6 separate regions of the Homo sapiens genome follow, and all the other regions are linked to region 2. Evidence: promoter capture Hi-C in 16 types of primary human blood cells and fetal thymus (Javierre and others, 2016). All regions are on one chromosome and are shown on one strand. Each heading gives the region's core, a stretch centred on a gene start or on the middle of the fragment in contact. The rest is flanking DNA. Distances are from core to core; before and after follow the strand shown. Region 1 overlaps TMC5 (transmembrane channel like 5). Region 2 holds the start of SYT17 (synaptotagmin 17). Region 3 overlaps TMC5 (transmembrane channel like 5). Region 4 overlaps GDE1 (glycerophosphodiester phosphodiesterase 1). Region 5 overlaps CCP110 (centriolar coiled-coil protein 110). Region 6 overlaps CCP110 (centriolar coiled-coil protein 110).

Evidence for each region. The method cuts DNA at HindIII sites, captures the fragments that hold promoters and counts their contacts. A CHiCAGO score of 5 or more calls a contact.
Region 1: a contact is called between a fragment that was not itself captured here and the fragment with the promoter of SYT17 in region 2, in 5 of 17 cell types (M0 macrophages, M1 macrophages, M2 macrophages and 2 more). The highest score is 10.5, in M0 macrophages.
Region 3: a contact is called between a fragment that was not itself captured here and the fragment with the promoter of SYT17 in region 2, in 4 of 17 cell types (M1 macrophages, M2 macrophages, monocytes and 1 more). The highest score is 9.9, in M1 macrophages.
Region 4: a contact is called between a fragment that was not itself captured here and the fragment with the promoter of SYT17 in region 2, in 8 of 17 cell types (M0 macrophages, M1 macrophages, monocytes and 5 more). The highest score is 16.9, in M0 macrophages.
Region 5: a fragment that was not itself captured here is called in contact with the fragment with the promoter of SYT17 in region 2 in 2 of 17 cell types (monocytes and M1 macrophages); the score reaches 5.2 in monocytes.
Region 6: a fragment that was not itself captured here is called in contact with the fragment with the promoter of SYT17 in region 2 in 3 of 17 cell types (monocytes, M0 macrophages and M1 macrophages); the score reaches 7.4 in monocytes.

What each region holds. Positions count from the first base shown.
Region 1 is chr16:19,488,475-19,491,174 of GRCh38, forward strand. It overlaps TMC5 (transmembrane channel like 5), which reads left to right. Exons shown (of 22, transcript NM_001261841.2): 18 at 1,921-2,094. Among named protein-coding and RNA genes, the nearest start is that of TMC5-AS1, 1.9 kb to the left of the region's middle. RefSeq lists an enhancer at 1-222. The HindIII fragment of the contact is 2,926 bases long and covers 1-2,700 here.
Region 2 is chr16:19,166,926-19,169,625 of GRCh38, forward strand. SYT17 (synaptotagmin 17) reads left to right here and starts at 1,315. Exons shown (of 8, transcript NM_016524.4): 1 at 1,315-1,736. The coding sequence starts at 1,722. RefSeq lists a silencer at 711-960 and an enhancer at 1,152-1,899. The HindIII fragment of the contact is 5,386 bases long and covers 1-2,561 here.
Region 3 is chr16:19,428,948-19,431,647 of GRCh38, forward strand. It overlaps TMC5 (transmembrane channel like 5), which reads left to right. Exons shown (of 22, transcript NM_001261841.2): 2 at 1,466-1,693. Among named protein-coding and RNA genes, the nearest start is that of TMC5, 12 kb to the left of the region's middle. The HindIII fragment of the contact is 3,518 bases long and covers 1-2,700 here.
Region 4 is chr16:19,510,071-19,512,770 of GRCh38, forward strand. GDE1 (glycerophosphodiester phosphodiesterase 1) reads right to left here. Exons shown (of 6, transcript NM_016641.4): 3 at 769-874. Among named protein-coding and RNA genes, the nearest start is that of GDE1, 11 kb to the right of the region's middle. The HindIII fragment of the contact is 2,165 bases long and covers 317-2,481 here.
Region 5 is chr16:19,528,195-19,530,894 of GRCh38, forward strand. All of the region lies in intron 2 of CCP110 (centriolar coiled-coil protein 110), which reads left to right. Among named protein-coding and RNA genes, the nearest start is that of CCP110, 5.6 kb to the left of the region's middle. The HindIII fragment of the contact is 6,012 bases long and covers 1-2,700 here.
Region 6 is chr16:19,547,483-19,550,182 of GRCh38, forward strand. CCP110 (centriolar coiled-coil protein 110) reads left to right here. Exons shown (of 14, transcript NM_001323572.2): 13 at 473-532. Among named protein-coding and RNA genes, the nearest start is that of VPS35L, 6.9 kb to the right of the region's middle. The HindIII fragment of the contact is 654 bases long and covers 926-1,579 here.

The DNA.
Region 1 (2,700 bases), core at 120-2,619, 320 kb after region 2:
CTCCTCCCACCTCTCCAACCCCACTTCCCTTTGGCTCCACTGTTCCCCGCCCCACCACCCTCACCCCATTCCTGGAAGCCAGCAAGCCCCTCCCAACAAGGGCAGAGTCCTCTGAGTGAAGTCCTTTTCCCACTCCCTTTGCTTGGCTGCCTCCTCTCCACCCTCTGATTCTCAGCTCCAAGGCCCTCTCCAAGATCTGATCTTCACAGCCCTCCTTGTCTGCTCTCAGTTCCCCACTGCTTCTCTCTCTCAGACCTGAGTTTCTTTCCTTCATTCTATCATTCATAATCAGGAATGCCTCTGTGTGAGTCTTTAATTGTTACTCAACGATTGTCCGTTTTTCCCACCAGAATGTAATCCCAATAGGGCAGGAACTTGCTTAATATGAAGTCCCCAGAGCCTGACTAGAACAGTGCTTAACAGAATAAGCCATGGTTGAATGAACAATTGAATGAATTAATGAACAAGGGAGATGATTTTTAGGACACATGTGAAACTGGGGCTCTCAGTTCCTTGCTCCACAACACCCTTGCTCCTCTTGGCATATCCACTCTCTTCTCTCTCTTCCTTGCTCCACAACGCCCTTGCTCCTCTTGGCATATCCACTCTCTTCTCTCTCTTCCTCACCAGTTCCTTGTTGCCCTATAGTTTCTGCTCATTCCTCCATAGCTAACAGGCTTCCCTCTTTATGCTTCTTAATTCAATTTCTTTCTTTGAGACAGGGCCTTGCTCTGCCACCCAGGCAGGAATGCAGGGGCGCAATCACAGCTCAAACTCCTGGGCTCACGTGATTGTCCCACCTCAGCCTCCCGAGTAGCTGGGACTATAGGCACACATCACCATGCCTGGCTAATTATTTTTTTATTTTTTATTTTTTTGAGACAGAGTCTCACTCTGTCATCCAGGCTGGAGTGCAGTGGCGCAATCTCGGCTCACTGCAAGCTCCGCCTCCCAGGTTCACGCCCTTCTCCTGCCTCAGCCTCCTGAGTAGCTGGGACTACAGGCGCCCGCCACCACGCCCAGCTAATTTTTTGTATTTTTAGTAGAGACAGGGTTTCACCGTGTTAGCCAGGATGGTCTTGATCTCCTGACCTTGTGATCCACCCGCCTCGGCCTCCCAAAGTGCTGGGATTACAGGCATGAGCCACCGCGCCTGGCATGCCTGGCTAATTTTTTTTTTTTTTTTTTTTTTAGAAATGGGTGTCTTGCTATGTTGCCTAGGCTGGTCTCGAACTCTTGGCCTCAAGAGATCCTTCTGCCTTGGCCTCTCAAAGTGCTGGAATTGCAGGCGAGCCACCATACTTGTCTTTAATTTCATTTCTTTTTTTTTTTCAGACAGGGTCTTGCTCTGTTGCCCAGGCTGAAGTACAGTGGTGTGATCACAGCTCACTATAGCCTCAACCTCCTGGGCTCAAGTGATCCTCCCACCTCAGCCTCCTATGTAGCCAGGACCACAGGCATGTGCTGCCATGCCCAGCTAATTATTTTTTTGTAGAGATGGAGTCTCACTATGTTGCCCAGGCTGGTCTTGAACTTCTGGGCTCAAGCAATCCTCCCACCTTGACCTCCCAAACTGTTGGGATTAGAGGCATGAGCCATAGTGCCTGGCCTTAATTCAACTTCTTAAGAAAAAAAGTCTGACTGCCCCCATTCATATCATTGAGCCAAGTTACTGCAGAAGTCACTGCTTGGCCTTTGGATTGGCTGCTGTTGGGTCAGCTCTGATCTGAGAGCAGGTCCTTAGAGTACAGGTCACCCCAGCAAGGCTGAGAGCAAGAGGGTTTCTTTGGGAAGTGGGTGTGATTGGATCAGGCAAGACTTGATGTTTTCAGGCCCAGAGCCCAGAAGGGACACCCTGATTCTAGAATAACCATCCCTGAGTCTTGTGCTAGAGATGTTCTTCCATCTTTGTTTTACCAGATTGAAGCCTTCAGCTGACTGTGGCCCTTTTCGAGGTCTGCCTCTCTTCATTCACTCCATCTACAGCTGGATCGACACCCTAAGTACACGGCCTGGCTACCTGTGGGTTGTTTGGATCTATCGGAACCTCATTGGAAGTGTGCACTTCTTTTTCATCCTCACCCTCATTGTGCTGTGAGTGTGGTACCCGGGGAATCTAGCAGGGAAAGCCAGGAGCTCTCGAGGGAAACAGCAGTAGGGATGTTTGGTTGGAAAGCAAATGGCTATAGCATAGCTCAGTGTTCTGGGTGACTCTACCCTTGCATAGGTAGTTTTCTTTCCTTCCTTCCTTCCTTCCTTCCTTCCTTCCTTCCTTCCTTCCTTCCTTCCCTTCCTTTTTTTCTTTTCTCTTCTCTTCCCTTCCCCTCCCTCCCTCTCTTTCTCCCTTTCTCCCTTCCCTTTCCTTTCAGTTCCGTTCCTTTCCTCTTCATTTTTTCTTCCTTCCTTCCTTCCTTCTTTCTCCCTTCCCCTCCCTTCCCTTCCCCTTCTTTCTCCCTTCCCCTCCCTTCCCTTCCTTTCCCCTTCCCCTCCCTTCCCTTCCCTTCCCCTTCTCCTTCCTTCCTTCCTTCCTTACTTCTCTCTTTCTTTTTTGGTTGAGACAGGGTCATGATCTCTCACTCAGGCTAGACTGTAGCGGCATGGTCATGGCTTGCTGCAACCTCAACCTTTCAGGCTCAAGCCATCCTCCCACCTCAGCCCCCAAGTAGCTGGGCTTGCAGGTGTGCACCACTACACTTGGCT
Region 2 (2,700 bases), core at 65-2,564:
ATGCCTGCAGAATCATAAGCACTCAATATGCGTTACGTGCTATATGCTACAAACTAAATATATCATACTAAAAAATGTATAGGTCTGCTAGATTTTTAGACAAAAAATATATGCATCTGAATATCCATCTTTTGTTACTCCCATATTCATTTTCTCATTTATTCCCACAAATCAGCCCTGGAGGATAGGCAGGGTGGAGATTTTCTCCTGTTTTTACTGAGGAAAAAGAGGCACTGGGAGGTTAAAATTAAAATGCTGATAAGCTGGTGTCCGGCAACAGGAGATGACTGGGCATATTAAAAAGAAAACCGGCCCGGCGCAGTGGCTCACGCCCCTAATCCCAGCACTTTGGGAGGCCGAGGCAGGCAGATCACTTGAGGCCAGGAGTTCGAGACCAGCCTGGCCCACATGGTGAAACCCTTTCTCTACCAAAAATACAAAAATTAGTGGGCGTGGTGGCATGTGCCTGTAGTCCCAGCTACTCGGGAGGCTGAGACACGAGAATCCCTTGAACCTGGGAGGCGGAGGTTTCAGTGAGCCAAGATTACCCCAGTGCACTCCAGCCTGGGTGACAGAGTGACACCCTGTGTCAAAAATAAAATAAAATAAAATAAAATAAAATAAAATAAAATAAAATAAAATAAAATAAAATAAAATAAGAAATCCAGCGGAGGGCAATGTTCCACCTCGAATCTCTGAGTGGAGAGCCAGAGGCCTTGGGCTGGGAGGTTTGATGGAGGCCTCTGGGTCCAGGGCGCCCCAGCCACGAGGACAGGCAGGAGGGCGGCGGTGGACACGCCCCGGGGCGCACGCTCGCTGGCGGCCGCCTGCCCGTGGGCAGAGGAGCGCACGAGGCCGGGCACGACGCTGGGTGGCGCTGCCGGGCCGCCCCGCGCTAGACCTGTTGCGTCCAGGGCGCAACTCCGGCAGGTTTAGGGTAAAGGGGCGCTCCGCTCTCTCCGCGCGCCCCCTGCAGCCCTGGACGCAGCACCTCCGTTTGGGACGCCCTACGCCCACCTTAACTTGAGGCTCCCATCCACGCAGCCTCTGCAAGCCTCACCGCAACCGTGCTAGGCGCGTCGGGTGGGGCGGGAATAAAGTTTTTCCAACCCAGTTTGGGGAGAGGGCTGGATGGGAAGGACCCTCCCTGCTGCAGACTTCATGGCAGGCTGCACTGTGTCCCCTCGGCTCCACGGCTGCCCCGGGGGCGCTGCTTTCGGTAGGTGCCAGCCCCCGTGCCAGCAGGATGGGCTGACCTGTGTACCGCCCCCTCCCACCCCCTTCCCCATTCCCATCCCCTCCCCCGCCTCCTGCGCGCTCCGGCCCCGGCGTCTCCGGCCCCGCCTGCGCTGGGGTCGCTGCAGTCCCCGCAGCTGCCCCGGGCTGCTTGCCCAGGCGCCCCGGCCTTATTCCAGCCTGGGGAGCGCCTCGGTGGGGAGCACGGGACAGCGAGGGAGGCCGAGGCGGGGGCCCTGGGCGCCCGATATCTCCGAACCGGGGAGGCGGCCCCGATTCCGAGAGCCGGAACGCAGGGAAAGGCAAGGACGGGGCGGCCGGCGGAGGGGCGGGCGCCGCTCATCAGCCACGCCAGTCACGTCTGGGGCCACCGGCTGCCTTTTTCTTCCTTTCCCCCTTTGCTTTCTTCCCCCTCCGCTGTTGGCGAGGGCAAAGTGGCCGTGGCGGCGCCATGCCCGGGCCGGAGTGAGTGCGCGCGGGCGAAAATGGCGTACATCCAGGTAGGGCTGAGGCTGGGGGCAAGGTCCGGGGTGCGGGTAGGGGGTGCCGCGCCCCCTCCGGCTGGGAGCGCGCGGAAGGGAGGGCCCACGGCTAGGCTCCCACAAACTTGCTTCGAGAAAAAGGGTGCCCGTGCGCGGGCAACCTGTGCAGCAACAGGGGTGCGCCCCGGGAGGAGAGACTGGGGACCCCCAAACCCCGGGATGGAGGGTCCTATGTGTACTCTGCAACGCGCGCCCTTGCCTCTTGGGGAGGGAATGGGGGGTGGGGCGGACTTTTCTTCTCCCCTGCCCCCTCCCTCTCCTTGGCACCCCACCCCAGGGGAGGGGCCGTGGGGAGGGCGGCCCGGGGCGCGCCAGCCACCCGGCCCGCCAGCTGCCGTTGCCGTGGTGACGGCTCCGGCTAATTGGCCGGCGGAGCGAGCCTGAGGCAGCTGTTCCGACCAGGAGGGACAAGGACGTCGTCTCTCCTGGGCACTGGGTGCTGAGGGGTGGGGGACACCCAGAGGCCAGAGGCGCGCTGGTGAAGAGAAGGGAGCCTGTTACTTTACTCCGCTGCATTGGGGTCTGGGAGATGTGGACCCTCTTCACCTTGAAGAAACGTCCCCCAAGAATCCTTGGGCTGAAATAATTCTGAAATAATTTCTAAGCAGCCTTTTTTGGGGGGAGGGGGCGGAGGGGTGGGCCGGGCTTCTTGGTGAAAAGACCTTTCTCCTCTGCAAGAAGGGAAGTGACCGCAGGTCAGCGCCAAGGTCAAGCAGGCAGACCCGCAGTGAGACCCGTTGAGCTGCTTGCTTCTGGCGCTGGCGCCTCTGAGCTGGGCAGAGAAGCTTACAGACTCCCACGTCCAGGGTGCATCTTGGCTCACATCTTGTCCCCTCAGCCACAGCTGGGGGTGCTGCTGGTCCTCCCATTCCCCTCTGGGTCACATATCCCCTCATCGTGTCCTCAGACGCTTCAGCCTGCC
Region 3 (2,700 bases), core at 13-2,512, 260 kb after region 2:
CCCAAGTAGTTGGGATTACAGGTGCGAGCCACCACGCCTGGCTCATTTTCTTATTTTTAGTAGAGATGGGTTTTCGCCATGTTAGTCAGGCTGGTCTCCAATTCCTGGCCTCAAGTGATCTGCCCATCTCAGCCTCCCAAAGTGCTGGGATTACAGGCATGAGCCACCATGCCCGACCAGTATTTTTATTTTCCTATTCATAGGTTTGATCTTGCTGTCTTGAAACCACAGACCTTATTTTCTAAGCATAGGCCTCATTTTCTTAGGCTCCAAGGAGTCTAAGTGTATGGCTGTGAATGTGCCTGACACTCTGAAAAGCCAACATGGATCTCAATACTAACAAATGTTTATTTACAGGAAGGCTTTGTTAATTGAGTGATGGAAGCTATTGCTCTCACTTGCTATTTAGAGACTATTGACATTACCTTTATTTCCTGGTCCTAAACATTACACACTGCAGATAAAGGAGTTCCTGGCATTTATTTGTCATGGCATCGAGGCTGACAGCCAAAGTAATCATTACACTAATACACATTCCCAGAAAGAGCAATCAAGAGCAGGCAAGCAAACGAAATCAATGTCTCTGCTGAAATGTGCCTGTGTGTGAGCGTCCCATGACCTGGTGCTCTGGCAACCACTCGTCCATGTGTGGGGGCCATCATCCTTGTGTTGGAGTTGTCTGTCCAAGATCAGGTGCCTGCAAAAAGAATGGGAGCTTCCAGAACCGCTAATGTGAAACTTTGGTTGAAATGAGGTGCCTGGGAATGAGCGATTTCTTCTTTTTTAAATTCTTTTTCATAGCCTTTCAAGAATTTTTAGAATTAGCCAGTCTTGAACTCCTGACCTCAGGTGATCCACCTGCCTCGGCCTCCCAAAGTACTGGGATTACGGCGGGAATCACTGTGCCTGGCCCAAAGTTCCCCTTTTTATAAGGACACCAGTCATGTTGCATTAGGTCCCACCCCAGTGAACTTATTTTAACTTGATTACCTCCACCGAGATCCTACTTAGAAATCAGGTCACATTCTGAAGTACTGCGGACTGGGACTTGAACATACCTTTTTGAGGGGATGCAACTCAACTCATAACAGTGGTCACGGTATGAACAGCATATGCCCTGGAAAGTCACACACCACATTTACGATAGTGGCACCTTCCAGACAGGGAAGAGGACACTGGAAAATTGGATTAGGAAGAGGTATTAGAGAGCTTCACCAGAAATGTTTTATTTCCTTAAGAAAACAAATGCAAGTCTGGAATTCATATGAAAAAGATTAGTATGAGTTAATATTTGACCTTTTCTTCTCTATGCTTCACTGTAGTCTAATGTTTCAAGTTTTTAAGAGAAGAGAAAACAGGAAGCCATTTGAGGCAGTGTTTTCTGCTTCCAAATGCACAGGATTGGGTTGTACAGTATGAGCCCATCTTTTATGGAAGTTTAAGTCCTCTGTCTTCTGATTTTCAGGACATGAGGCTCTGCCTGCAGTCAGCAACTTGGAATATTCAGACTTCAGACCAGCATCACAGATTATAACCCTCCGTAAATCATCTGCATCCCAGCTCCCATCAAAAGCCAGCCTGAAGGACCCATGGACACGTGACTCCAGTGTTCTCAACAACATCTTAAGATCAAGTTGGTTTGCACAACATTTGCATCTACTTGGGACAAAGCAAGAACAATAAGGGCAAAAAAGTAAGTTTTCATACAGCTGAATTTATTCGGTTAAATAAACTACCCTTCTTTTTGAGATGGGGTCTCCCTCTCTTTTTTTTAAGTCCATAAAATGTTTTATGAGATAATGGTGATAGTCAATTGTGATAGCTGCCATTGCCTTTAATATCCTTAGATGGCAAAACAGAATTTTATTGGGACTAATTTCTTTCCTTCTCTCCACTCTCTGCAATAAAAACAATTTTTTTTTTTTTTTTTGAGACTGAATCTCGCTCTGTCGCCAGGCTGGAGTGCAGTGGCACGGTCTCAGCTCACTGCAACCTCCCACTCCCTGGTTCAAGCAATTCTCCTGCCTCAGCCTCCTGAGTACCTGAGATTACAGGCACGCGCCACAACAAAAACAATTTTTTAAAAATTATTTGGTCTGTTTTAAGTCAAATAAATGATGGTTCATTGGAACTAGTTAAAAACTTCTGTAGAATCATTTTCATAATTTTAACTGTGGGTCTTAAGTATGTAGGGATCTTACATTATTTACAGGATCATCACTAGCATATAGAACATTGATTTCATTTATGTTAAGAGGTTAATCATGGGTTTTCATGACAAAGTTCACCCCGTTAGAAGATAAAACGTGGGGGCCGGGCGCGGTGGCTCACACCTGTAATCCCAGCACTTTGGGAGGCCAAGGTGGGTGGATTGCCTGAGGTCAGGACTTCGGTAGCAGCCTGGCCAACATACTGAAACCCCGTCTCTACTAAAAATACAAAAAATTAGCTGGGCATGGTGGCAGGTGCCTGTAATCCCAGCTACTTGGGAGGCTGAGGCAGGAGACTCGCTTGAACCCAGGAGGCGGAGGTTGCTGTGAGCCGAGATCGTGCCATTGCACTCCAGCCTGGGCAACAGGAGGGACCTTCCATCTCAGAAAAAAAAAAAAAAAGAAGAAGAAGAAGACAAAATGTACGGCTGAAATTGGACTTTGTGGCCTTGTTTTGCCTCTCTCGGGGCAACTTCCTGCTCTTGGTGCT
Region 4 (2,700 bases), core at 149-2,648, 340 kb after region 2:
AAAAATACTCAAGTTGCCCAAATGGGGAAAAAAGTACTTGCACTTGAAAAGCTGGTTATAAGAGAACAAATGTAATCAGAATCATATCTTCCCACTGATTTTCACTGTAATAATATGTTCTTATGAGTGTAAGTGCAGGCCCTAAAATTTAAGCAAAATTTTATCTAGGAATGTCAAATACATTTGAAGAAAATAAATGATTTTCTGATAAAAGTATAACTGCTAAAATCAATGAATAAAAAACTATACATAAGGGATATAAATTATACAAAGGGATAAATCTATGTAAAAGGTATATGTTCTGTTAACTATTAGAAGCTTTTAATATAGGAATTCTCTTTAAATGCAGTCCATAGTTGTCCATATAAGGCCCTTAACTTTTAAGCTAGATAAAATTGGTCTTGTGTACAACTTCGGAATTCCTTTTTTTCAAGTAACTCAAGGTTACTACAGTGGTTTTTTTCTAGAAATGTCTTTTTTACTGTTTACTTAATATCTTTTGTAAATGCTTTATGTAAATAATAGAAACTTGACTCTTCCATTTTATGCTGGTTTTGTAAAGTTTCCATAAAAGGTTAAAAAGTTCCATAATGCACTGTTTCCTTAAATGATATAGATTCCTGCATTGTACACTTCCATTAAACAAATACAATTTATAAAAATAAGTTTTAAAAAGAATAAATAACAAAATATATGTAACTTCGGAAATGACCGTCAATGAAATAAGATGTCTTTTTAACAAAGTGAAGTCCACAATTTAAACTGTACCTTGTGTGCATGGCCTTTGACATCAAAGAAGATTGTGAGGTTATGGTTTAGGCACTCTGCAACAGCTTCCCTTAGGGTAGGGATCTTTTCATCAGGGAAATCATTCCTGTAAGAGAAGAGAAAATACGTTGTAGGAAAAAAGAGAAACAGATAAACTGTATTGCAACAAACATTTTGCATATGTCTCTCAATCAAAAGGAAAGAGTGTTTTCTCCAACTTCCTTTTTTCGACCATAGCAAAGTCCAAAGATACTTTACTTTAAGATTTTTTTTTTTTTTTTTGAGACGGAGTCTTGCTCTGTTGCCCAGCCTGGAGTGCAGTGGTGCAATCTCAGCTCACTGGAACTACCAACTCCCAGGTTCAAGCAATTCTCCCGCCCCAGCCTCCCAAGTAGCTAGGACTACAGGCGTGTGACACCACGCCTGGCTAATTTTTTGTGTTTTTAGTAGAGGCGGGGTTTCACCATGGTGGCCAGGCTGGTCTTGAACTCCTGACCTCAAGTGATCTACCTGCCTTGGCCTCCCAAAGTGCTAGGATTACAGGTGTGAGCCACTGCGCCTGTCCTACTGTAATAATTTGAACCAAATTATAGATATTCTTTTTTCCACATTTTTATTGCTATACACTTAGACATATTTTTGTGATATGCGCATAATGTATAATGATAAAATCAGGGTATTTAGGATGTCCATCACCCCAAATATTTATCATTTCTTTGTGTTAGGAACATCTAAATCTCCTAGCTATTTTGAAATATACAACAGATTGTTAACTATAATCACTTTACTATGTTATTGAACACTAGAATTTATACCTTCTATCGAACTGTATGTTTGTACTCATTAACCAAATTCTCCTTATTCTCCTCTTCCCCCAACCCCAAACCCTTCCCAGCCTCTGGTAACTATCATTCTCCTCTCTACCTCCATGAGATCAACTTTTTTAGCTCCCATATATGAGTGACAACATGTAATATTTGCCTTTCTGTGCCTGGCTTATCTTATTTCATTTAACATAATACCTTCAGTTCCATCCATGTTGCTGTAAATGACAGGATATCATCCTTTTTTATGGCTAACTACATAGTATTCCATTGAGTATATTTACCACAGTTTATCCATTCATCCACTGATGAACACTTAGGTTGATTCTGTATCTTGGCTATTGTGAATAGTGTTGCAATAAACATGGGGGTGCAAGTATGCCTTTGATACACTAGTTTCCTTTCTTTTGGATAGATACCAACTAGTGGGATTACTGGATTGTATGGTAGTTCTATATTTTTAGTTTTTTGAGAAACCTCCATACTGTTTTCCATAATGGCTGTACTAATTTACATTCCCACCAACAGAATATAAGAGTTCCTTTTGCTCTGTATCCTCGCCAGCATCTGTTATTTTAAAAATCTTTTAAATAATGGCCATTCTAACTAGATAAGATGGTACTTCATTGTGGTTTTGATTTGCATTTCCCTAATAATTTGTGGTGTTTTTTCATATGCCTGTTGGCCATTTGTGTGTCCTCTTTTGAAAAATGTTTATTCAAATTAGGATTTGAATAGATGTTTTTAATGGGATTATTATTGTTTTTGCTGTTAAGTTCCTTGTATATTCTGGATATTAGTTACTTGTCTGTTGAATAGTTTGCAAATATTTTCTCCTATTCAACAGGTTTTCTTTTTACTCTGTTGATTATTTCCTTTGCTGTGCAGAAGCTTTTTAGTTTAATATAGTCACATTTGCCTGTTTTTGTTGCCTGTGCTTTTGAGGTCTTAGCCATAAAATCTTTGCCTAGATCAATGTCCCAGAGCTTTTCCCCTGTGTTTTCTTCTAGTAGTTTTATAGTTTCTGGTCTTAAATTTAAACTTTTAATCCATTTTGTGTTGATTTTTTAAATATAGTGAGAGATAGGGGTCTAGTTTCATTATCCTG
Region 5 (2,700 bases), core at 52-2,551, 360 kb after region 2:
ATAGAACTTTGTGTTCCTTAGATTGTGGAGAAAATGCACTTTTAATGCACTTTTGCTAAGAGAATCAGTTTATTTTATTTCTAGATGAGCAGTTTGGTAGAATTTAAAAGCATACATAGCCTTTGGGTCAGCAGTTCCATTTTTGGGTATATCCTACAATTATATGTGAGCCCAAAGAAATAAGTACAAAGTTACATTAGCATTGTTTAAAATAGCAAAGGTTGACGAACCACCTAAATGTCCATCAGTAGTGGAGTAGTTTAACTATGGTCTATTTTATAAACTCTCATACATACCATTACAGTAAGGCAGATGTAAATGTTGAGGCATGGAAGGATCTCAATGATCTAGTGTAAAACACCGTGTGCAGCATGCTGTCAGGGGCAGTATAGAGTCATGATTAGAGGTCCAGACTCTGGGCCAGGCACAGTGGCTCACACCTATAGTCCCAATGCTTTGAGAGACCGGAAGGAAGAGGATTGCTTGAGACCAGGAATTCAAGACTAGCCTGGTCAACATAGTGAGACCTCATCTCTATAAAAACATGTTAAAAAATTAGCCTGGCGCAGTGACATGTGCCTGTAGTCCCAGCTCTTCAAAGGCTAAGGCGGAAGGATCGCTTGAACCTAGGAGTTGCAGGCTGCAGTGAGTCAGGATTGCATCATTGCCTGGACTACAGAGAAAGACCCTATCCCAAAAGAAGGAAAAAAACTCCAGCCTGGGCTAACAGAGCAAGACCCTATCCCAAAAGAAGGAAAAAAAAAGTCTAGGCTGTGGAGCCTTCTGGCCTGGGTCCAAATCATTGCTTTGCTACTTACTTGCTGTGTAAACTTGTGGTCCATTTTCTTATTTGTTAAATGGGGATAAAATAGTGCCTACCTCATAAGGCTATTTTGAAGATTAAATGAATTCGTAGATATAAAATGGTTAGAATACCACCTGGATCATAAGAGGTACCCAATATAAGTTAACCATTTGGGTTTTTCAAAGGATGGCTATTCCTTTTCTGGGGAGTGGTGAGAGAATATAGGATAATAGGGAAGACACTTCATCATACACCCTTTGATACTAATTGGATATTTTAAAAATGCATATGACTTTATTTTAAATCACAAACTAATATTAGAAAAAAGTGAGCTTTAAATTTATTTTTTGGTATAACAGGAGTTAAGAGATTAATTTTAATTAATTGAATTGAATTTTTAAAGACACCAGAGCTAACTGCCAACTTTTTGTAATGAAACTTTCAAACATACAGCAAAGTTGAAAGGATAGTGCAGTGACCACCCATAGATTTACCATTAGATTAAATAATTTTTAACATTGTTGTCATCTTTGCTTTATTGTGTTTGTGATTTTTATATACATCTATGTGTGTGTGTACATATGACATTTTTAAAAATTGCCTAGCTATTTGAAAACCACGGAGACCTGACACTGCTCCCCTAAATATTTTGGTGTACATCTCTTAAAAATAAGGACATTCTCCTATGTAAAGCCCCAATACCATTATCACATCTTAAGAAAACTAATAATTTTTAATAATATCTAATAATTCTGTTCATATTTAAATTTTTCCATTTGTGCTCAAAATGCCTTTTATAACTTTATTCCCCCAATCTGGATCCAAAGTTCACAATTAGTATTTGCTTGTTATGTTTCTTTATTTTAATCTAAAATAGCTACTGTACGTCTTAAAAACAGTTTTTTTTATTGGTTGAGCATGGTGCCTCACGCCTATAATCCCAGCACTTTGGGAGGCTGAGGTGGGTGGATTGCATTGCTTGATCCCCAGAGTTTGAGACCAGTCAGGGCAACGTGGTGAAATCTCATCCCTACAAAAAATACAAAAAAGAGCTGGGTGTGGTGGCGCGCACCAGGAGTCTCAGCTGCTCTAGAGGCTGAGGTGGGAGGATCACCTGAGCCCGGGAGGCTGAGGCTGCGGTGAACCCTGATCATGCCACTGCACTCCAACCTGGGTGACAGAGTGAGATACTGTCTTTAAAAAAATAACAAAACTATGATACTGAATTTTTAAAGAGACCAGAGCTATTGTCTTGTAGAATTCCTTAGATCTTGGATTTGTCCCATTGTTTCCTAATAGTGTTATTTAACTTGTTTCTCTAGTCCCTGTAGTTCCTATGAACTGGAAGTGAAGTTTGATAAACAGGTTAAAGATTTTTGGAATTCTTTGAAGATAGGGCTGGGCGGGGTGGCTCATGCCTGTAATCCCAGCACTTTGGGAGGCTGAGACCAGCCTGGCCAACATGACGAAACCCCGTCTCTACTAAAAATACAAAAATTAGCTGGGCGTGGTGGTGGATGCCTGTAATCCCAGCTATGTGGGAGGCTGAGGCAGGAGGATCCCTTGAACCCAGGAGGCGAAGGTTGCAGTGAGCCAAGATCCACTGAACCCAGTAGGCAAAGGTAGTGAGCCGAGATCGAGCCACTGCACAACAGCCTGGGCAACAGAGTGAGACCCTCTCTCAAAAAAAAAAAATGTAATCCCAGCACTTTGGGAGCCCGAGATGGGTGTATCACTTGAGGTCAGGAGTTCGAGACCAGCCTGGCCAACATGGCGAAACCCCTTGTCTACTAAAAATATAAAAATTAGCTAGGCATGATGGTGGGTGCCTGTAATCCCAGCTGTGCGTTAGGCCGAGGCAGGAGAATCGCTTGAACCCAGGAGGGATCGGGATC
Region 6 (2,700 bases), core at 3-2,502, 380 kb after region 2:
AGGAGGATAGCTTAAGCCCAGAAATTCAAACCAGTATGGGTAACATAGTAAGACCCATCTCAAAAAAATAAATAAATAAAAAATAAAGCTAAAAAGCGAACTTTAATATTTCTGACCTGTTTTTTACTCCTGTAAAATGAGAGTGATACTTTCTTCTCTCACTGGTTTGAAGGGAAAAGTTAGCTTTTGTAAAGCATATGTATAAGAAAATTATCTAAAAGCACAAGGGTTAGTCTATATGTTGGACATTTCTTTGCTGATAAAAACCTAAGGTTTGGACTCTTAGTGAGCAAAATACAAGTATCATATTAATATGCTTTAGTCGATTTGCTCTGATTTGTGGTAATATATAGGCCATATTATTGCATAGTTGACCTTTACCTTACAGTCATCATCTTTCATCCGTTGAAAGAAAATGGGAAAAAATGGAATTTAACCTATTAAATTAATTTTTCATTTAATTTGTCAACAGAGTCCTTCAGCCAAACCAAGGACAGAATGCACCTGTTCATAGGCTACTTAGTAGACAAGGGTAAGAATGCCACACACGGGTATTGAAAACTACGGAAACCAAGATTAGATTTGAGAGGGAAAAATAAATCTAGTGTTCTTTATGTAAAGGATAATGGTTTTTCAATGGGATTTTTTTTCTTTATAGCATTGGGAAAGATATTTTAAAGTTTTGTCTTCAAATGTAACCCTCTTGGTGTACTGTTGTGTATTCTAATTACTGTCTTAAGTTGGGATGTTTTTACTTTTCATTTCATACCATTTTACTCATAAAGTATTTTAAATATCCATATAGTAAATTCAGCATCACCGAAGTGATTCTCCAACAGAGTATGACTCGTGCTTATAGTCTCCTGCTGAAGCCAGAGTTTAGCTTTCCTTACTGTGCGCATGCATGAGACTTCAGTTCTTTTCAAGCTTATTTGTGCTTTGGACAGTTGATGCAATGTGATTGCTTTCTTTGAATTTTGAACATTTAGACCTTAATGCCAGTGACTTATTAATTTTTTTATATTCAATTAGAACCCCTAAGACATCAGTGAAGGGGGTTGTGCAAAATAGACAGAAGCCTTCACAGAGCAGAGTGCCTAACAGAGTGCCTGTTTCAGGTTTGTAGAAAATAAATTCCTGAAGCCCATTCAATAGAAGGAAGTGCACAAGCTGCCCCATAACTCAGGCCATAGAAGTGGAATAGATTGTCTTTCCTTGCCACCATAATTTTGGCATATTCACAGTCATCTTATTAGTGTTCTTTGGTCTTAGCATTGTATGGCAGTCAGGAAGTCTTAGTAAAAGTGTGATTCCAGTCTTCATTTCTATAATATTTCTGTGGAAAGCACCTTGTATTTTTCATTCTGAAAAAATTGTAGAATTTGCCATGCTTAATTCAGAAAACCTTTTTATTTAATGAATAAAAGATAACGATCATCTCTGGTGCTAAGTCTGTGCATTGTCTGTTCAGCTTGGGGAAGTGTATCTGCACATAAGGGGATAAACTTTCTCCCTCAGACTATAAGATCACATGTGAATATGCCAGTGGGAGGAGGGCTTCATATTTTGCTCAGTCCAAAGCTTGAGCTAAATCTCTCCTTATGTTCATTATTTGAGGATTAAGAGCTAAACTAAAAACTGTATTTTAAAATTCTGTTTATGGTGGCAAGAAGACAAACTCATTCTTGAGCAAATTCAAAGCTCTTAACCAAATGCTTTAATATTTTTTAGGTATCTTTGTTAAGACACTTTGATTAAGCTCACTTAAAAATTATGTGATCCATTTAAAAATACTTTCCAAATGTTGTGCTTTAACTATACTGCTTTCTAGACATTTACAACAAACCTAAATTAATCACCAGGCATTGAAGATTAAACCTTTAATCAATTTTAATCTTTCCATTAATATACAATTAGGCAAATTTTAGAGCTTTATTACTAAGTGATTTCCTTCAAATTAGGAGGGAACAAGCTATTGGTCGTAACTTTGAAATGATGGCTGACCTTTTGTATGTATGTAGTGAAGGTAATTCATAGTGTCACACATATATAGGATAATTTAAAAGATCATCTTTGGAAATCATTGTGAGTGACAGTTAATGGAATTGTCTTAAAGGATTACATAGCTGAAGATACTGTTTACTCCAGAGGCAGTCAGAATAAGCTAGTTTGAAAGATAACCATTTGAAAGGACTCAGACCAAACACCAAACCTGTGGAATTTTAAGACATTTTCTGTTTTTCTCATGTTAGTATTCTATATTGCACTGAAACTTAGCAAGTTGGAAAATCATTGAGGAATTAGTATTGTTTTGCCTGATACCAATTTGCCACAGTGACTACTCTCCATGTTCTTTTCTCATGCATTTCATCTCCACTATTTGTCACTTGTGAACTTATAAGCAAAATAGCAAGTACTGTTTTTATTCAGCAATACTCAACAGTATAAAGGATGTATAGTCAGTCACTGAAGTTAGTAACATACAATGAAGTTCATTATTTTGAACTATTGAGGTTAAATTGCATTGCAACATACTTATTAATACAAATGAACTTAACCCTTGAATTAATATGTATCTAAACAAGTACAAAAGTCTGTTGCTGTTGTTTTCTAAAGATTTACTTATACATGAGTGCATATTTAGACAATTGAAAGAAACTAAATAATTGTGTTCTTTTTTTTTTTTTGAGACAGAGTCTT